Linked DNA regions of Homo sapiens: region 1 is linked to region 2. The links are contacts of gene promoters, found by promoter capture Hi-C in human tissues and cell types (Jung and others, 2019). All regions are on one chromosome and are shown on one strand. The core of a region is centred on a gene start or on the middle of the fragment in contact, and the rest is flanking DNA. Distances in the headings are between cores, read along the strand shown. Region 1 has its middle 7.0 kb from the start of SYT9-AS1. Region 2 holds the start of STK33 (serine/threonine kinase 33).

What was found. Contacts are between HindIII fragments. The study calls those that stand out against the background at their distance.
Region 1: a contact is called between a fragment that was not itself captured here and the fragment with the promoter of STK33 in region 2, in 1 of the 25 tissues and cell types used here (spleen).

The regions. Positions count from the first base shown.
Region 1 is chr11:7,471,530-7,474,229 of GRCh38, forward strand. No RefSeq gene overlaps it. Among named protein-coding and RNA genes, the nearest start is that of SYT9-AS1, 7.0 kb to the left of the region's middle. RefSeq lists an enhancer at 2,289-2,518. The HindIII fragment of the contact is 8,532 bases long and covers 1-2,700 here.
Region 2 is chr11:8,592,868-8,595,705 of GRCh38, forward strand. STK33 (serine/threonine kinase 33) reads right to left here and starts at 1,361. Exons shown (of 16, transcript NM_001352389.2): 1 at 1,216-1,361. RefSeq lists a silencer at 924-1,183. The HindIII fragment of the contact is 7,731 bases long and covers 1-2,838 here.

The DNA.
Region 1 (2,700 bases), core at 60-2,559, 1.1 Mb before region 2:
CCAGCTAATTTTTGTGTATTTTTAGTAGAGACAGGGTTTTGCCATGTTGGCCAGGCTGGCTTCGAACTCCTGACCTCAGGTGATCCACCCGCCTTGGCCTTCCCAAGTGTTGGGATTACAGGCATGAGCCACCACGCCCAGCCCCACTATTCTACTTTCTATCAAGTGCATTCCAAGATAGGCTGACCTTCATGGAAGAAGTGAAATAGAAAACTGAGGAAAAGAAAATAATTGGAAAAAAAGTCCCACAAGTCAAGAAAGTACCCCAAGGAAGACTTACAGGACAACTTCCAAGGCAAATGGGAAAAGAGAACATTGGCAATCTAGGAGCTGCAGGAGAGAGCCCTGGTCTTCATCCCTAAGCCCAGGATGAATGTGAGGCAAAAATAGTCTCTGTTCTTTTGGAGGAAGAAAAAGCGAGTGAGCAAGCAAGCAAGAGAGAGAGAAAGAGATAGAGAAAGAAAGAAAAAGAGGGAGGGAGGAAGGGAAGGAAGGGAAGGAAGGGAAGGAAGGGAAGGAAGGAAGGAAGGAAGGAAGGAAGGAAGGAAGGAAGGAAGGAAGGAAGGAAGGAAGGAGCAAGCTCTGAGCAGTGCCACAGACCTGCTTCCAGTGTCCCTGATATAAAGCTCTCTTTGCTCAGTCTCCCAAGAGAACAGATCAAGCTTCTCCCAAGGACTATGGCAGGAACCCACTTCCTTCTTCCACTCAAAAGACTTGTCACTTGCTGCTGGGATCCCTGGGCATATGGGCTGCAAAATTCAACTAGCTGCGTGATCACCTCTGTCACCTCACTCCCTGGTGTCTTCCCACTTGTGTCCAGGAGCTCTGGGCCTGGGAAGGATTAACAACAAAGATTAAAGATGGCCCACAAGGCCTCAGAGGATCAGGAGCCAGCCCTGAAGTCCAGAAATTTTGACTAAGCCTCTGTCATTAGGGTCTCCCAGCTCATCCATAGGCTAATGCCAAACTTTCACAACAGCTAGTGGTTCTCATGACACCTCCTCCTGGTAGAAAGGAAAGAATAAGTCAAAAGGACCTGGGCCACAGATTCTGTCCTCTTGAGTCATTGATTTTGCCTCCCTAAACTATATCTTAAGATAGATTACTCTGTGAAAGCTGGATGACCATTGCCAGACAATTTAAAAAGTATATATATCAATATGAAATGGATTGATGATAATATTGCATATTATAGTTTATAGCACATGGATGGTATTGCTTTTATCCATTTTCTTTATTTTTTGAAAATTGAATTTGTGATTTTAAACATTAAAGATAATAGAAAAATTAATTTTTTGGCTCAATACTAGATTTATTATAGCTATTATTCCAATAATTTATTCATTGAATTAAAGTTATTTCAAAACCATTTGACATAGGAATATTGATAGTTTTTTTTTCTACCAAGTGAACATCATCTTCAAGACATTCACACAATTTAGATAAAATTCCTTTTGCACAGCAGCTGTATCCAGAGGCTTGATCTTGGATTTAGATTTAAATTTATCAAAGAAAGGCAGTTTTTAAAATTTGCCTAATTCAAAGCTCAAAGACTAATGAAATCCTTTCTTCAAATACCTGAAGACATTTGTATTCAGGGCTCTAGAGATGAGCTTATGAACTCTATAAACAACTGGTAAGTAAACCTTCCAGAAACAAGTTTTACCTTTATAGCAGTACCCTTCTCTGCTGGTACCAATTATCCCTCCTAAAGGACTACTTCTATGTGTGAAGCCTCAGTGGGACCCATTGCCCCTCAGTGGGCCTTTTCTGGCTTTGAAAAGAAAAGACCCCAGCATGGTCCTCAAGTCTTCTGATGTTTATATAAAGACGGCAGGTCCTTGTAGAAGTGTTTATATAAATTAGGAAAGATTCCCCCACCTACCTTCAACTTATGACCTTCTTTGACTCCAGGGAACAAGGAAAAATCACTAGTTTGGGAAAGGTAGCTTTCAGTCTTGAAGCTGTAATTATACAGGGGTTAATGACTGGGAAGGAAGATTAAACTTTTACTCACTACTTGAAATTATTCTAGTGCATGATCTCACTTCTTTGGGTTCTAATCCTAAATTATTTGCCCTATTCTGGTAGTTGGACATAGTGGTGGAGACCAGCTGGCTCCTAGAAAGTACAAAGGGAACTCCACCCAGTTACCACCAAGCACAGTGCAGGTTGGAGACAGCCTTTTCCTGAGGTGGGGCTGAGGACCTGCTCTGCCACTGACCAATCCTGTGATTTCCAGGCCTCACCTTCCTAGACACTCTCTGCTGTCAGGGATCCTGCCAGACACTTGTCAGCCCCTGGTGCAGCCAGGTCACGGCCATATCTGAGGGATAAACAGCACTGCACCTGTGACTATACTTGGCTTCTACCCTTCTGGGCTTAAGAGGACTTTGGCAATCCCCAAAGGACTCAGACACAGCATGACCATGGGAAACCCCTGCCTAGAACTTCCTGCCTTGGCCCAGCCCATCACTGGTTTTTACATAATGGTGCTTGGCATTTCTAGGCCACTGTACACATATACACACACAAGCACAAATGCAATTATTGTGCAGGAACAGCTGCAAAGAGGCTGGTGCAGGGCTCCATGTCCTTCCTGAAAGTGGCTGAGGGGAGCATGGTCCTACCACAGCTGGGAGACTTGACTTTGTGCATCCCTTTATAGAAAGAAGCTCTCTGACTCTTACAGAAGTTGCT
Region 2 (2,838 bases), core at 111-2,610:
CAGGGCAAAGAATGGATGGGAATATTGAAAGGAAAGGATAAATACCTTTAGATTAGTTAAGAGGCTACTACTGGACAACAGATCATGGTAGATTGGTCTAGGGTAATAGTAGCAGAGACAGAGATACTCAAATGGATTTGAGATTTGGTTTGAAGATAAAATGAATAGAACTTGATGATTGTTTGGATATGGAAAGGAAGAAAGTGCGAGGTGTCAAGGATGAGGCCAAGATTTCTGATTTGCAAACTAGAGGTTGGTATGACCCATTGAGATAGCAACAGAGATTTACACGAGCTAAAAATTTAAATGCGCGATATATCTGCATATCCATCACTGTCTAAAGGCACGGGCCTGGAGAACAAGGAAAGAGTTTGGGTTCAAAACTTGTTGATGTTCCTTTCCATTCACAGAGCCCTCTTTCAAGGCAGGACTATCCTATTTTCTGGTTGGATATTGGAGTCATTTGGTGGTCAGGCAAAAAAGAAGGTCCTTCTTAGCTGGTGATATGGGACGGGGAGCACCAGACCACTCTTAGCATGCAAATATCCCTTACTAACGCTCAAGTGCTTTTCACATGTACTGTTCACAAAACAGCTTCACATATAGGTTCACTGAAACCCACGACCTTGTGAGAAATTATAATCTACATTTAGGAAGCTGAGGGAGAGTTCTTAAATTACCTGTCCACAGAGCCAGTACGGGGCTGCTTTATGTCATCCTTTCACCTCCTATGTGCAGCCTCTAGGTGCAAGAGACTATCTTAAGGGCAACAGGAAACCTACCATATAATGGGGTCCCACTAGGTACCAGGCTCTAGCAGTTTAAAAAAAAGAAACACAACTTCAGAACTTCTAAGGATGTTTCCCACACACTTACCCCACAGTAAGTTCGCTTCTAAACTTTCAAAAAGTTTCACGTCCCAAGATGGGGTGAAGGTGAGACGGTGGAGATGAACCGGGGCAGACAGAGACCACCCCAAATACCGGACCCGGGGGAAATGGGGTACCAACGGCTGGGCCCCAGGAGACACTCGGAGGGGTCCGCGGGCTCGGCCCGGTCCCTCCGCTGGGGGGTTACCAGCCGGCCGGCAGCGAGATACCCAGAGGCCCGTTTTTCCACCGCGTTGCCATAGCAACGGCCTGGCCGGCTGCGCCCCGGGCCGCCCGCCCCATCCCGCGGGCCCGCCCTGAGCCAGTGACTCCAGGGACCACTCACCGCGGCCGGCGGACTGGCGGGTCTCCGACAGGTGCGCACACTCGGCGCAGGCTGTCGCTGAGCCCGGAATTCTGCACCGGGAGAAACTTTTCAGCCCGCAGAGCAACCGCAGGGCAGTGGACGGGGGCCGCGCGAGGACAAACAGCGGCGGCGGGTGCAAAGCCCCTTCTCCAAGCCGCGGGGTTGGCCGGGAGGTGCCGGCTGCACAACGGCGCCCACGTGACCCAGGTGCAGCCCCAGGCGCGCCCAAGGGCAGCTCGCCTTAGAGAAGGACCTAAAACCCCGTCTGGGGCACAGAGGAGCAGCCACGTGTTACGTAAAATAAAGCTTTGTAGCAGGAATATCACAGTACTGAGGTGATTGATGCTCAGGCCACTCTTCTCACTCGGAGTCAAGCCCATCAAGCCCCAGCCAGTTGGAGCAAGGGCTGCAAGCCTTGAACTGCAGTGAGTGGGGAGCTGGCCTAAAAAGACGGGAAAATGCTGGGGGGAGGGTGTTTGTCCCCACGCAGGGGCTGAGAAGACTCCTGACAGATCAAATGACGATTCTCAGGGATATGTTTTAGCTACAAACCTATGAGAACCATCTGAATGCCTGCCCCATGCAACAGAGGGTCCAGCTGTATGCTAATGTATTTACTGGCCTGAACTAAGAATGGCTTCTGTGGTCCTGGGTCCTACTCTCTAGCAGTGTGGGGAAGAAATTCAACTCTCCTAATACTAGCCTAATTATTTGAGGCAGATGTTCTCTAAAATTAGCTGATTGATAGCCAGTAACTTGATACGGCAGGTGGATTCATTGTATTGCTTCGGGGGAGGCTACATTTGGCAACTAGTTCATCCAGTCCTTTTCATCAAAAAACTCAAAATGGTCATAATGGGTGACTGGTAACTTCAAACTTCAAACCACTGGACTAGGCCGGGCGCAGTGGCTCACACCGATAATCTCAGCACTTTGGGAGGCCAAGGCAGGAGGATTGCTAGAACCCAGAAGTTCAAGACCAGCCTGGGTAACACTGGGAGGCCCCCATCTCTACAAAATTAAAAACTACCTGGCCACCAAAGGGCTGCAAGAAACCTACCATATAATGACGTCCTACTAGGTACCAGGCTCTAGGAGATTAAAAAAGATCTCCTAGGATAATCTCCCGCATCTTAAGGTCCTTAATCACATCTGTAAAGTGCCCTTTGCATATAAGGTAACATATTCACAGGTTCCAGCCTGGGCGACATAGCCAGCCCTGCCTCTAAAAACAAAAGCAACCACTGGACTGCGTTTTGCCCTGGATTAAACCAGACCACCAAAAAACTGTATGTTTGTACCATTTTGTCTTCACCGTTGGCAACATTGCATGAACCAAGTCATGTTTAGCACTATGCCATTTGCTTATATTAAGAGATGCTGTTTAAAAAAATTCATGATACCTCTGCATTTACTAGAGGGATTACTTTAAGAATGTTGTTTATTACATCTTTGTAGCAGAATCCTACCAGCTTGTCCAGCGCAGAGCTTTTCAAACTTTTTTGAGCACAATCCATCAAAATAAATATGTTTTACATTATCACTCAATACACAGGTACTCATATATTTAGTAAATGAAACAAGTTTTATAAAACATTACCC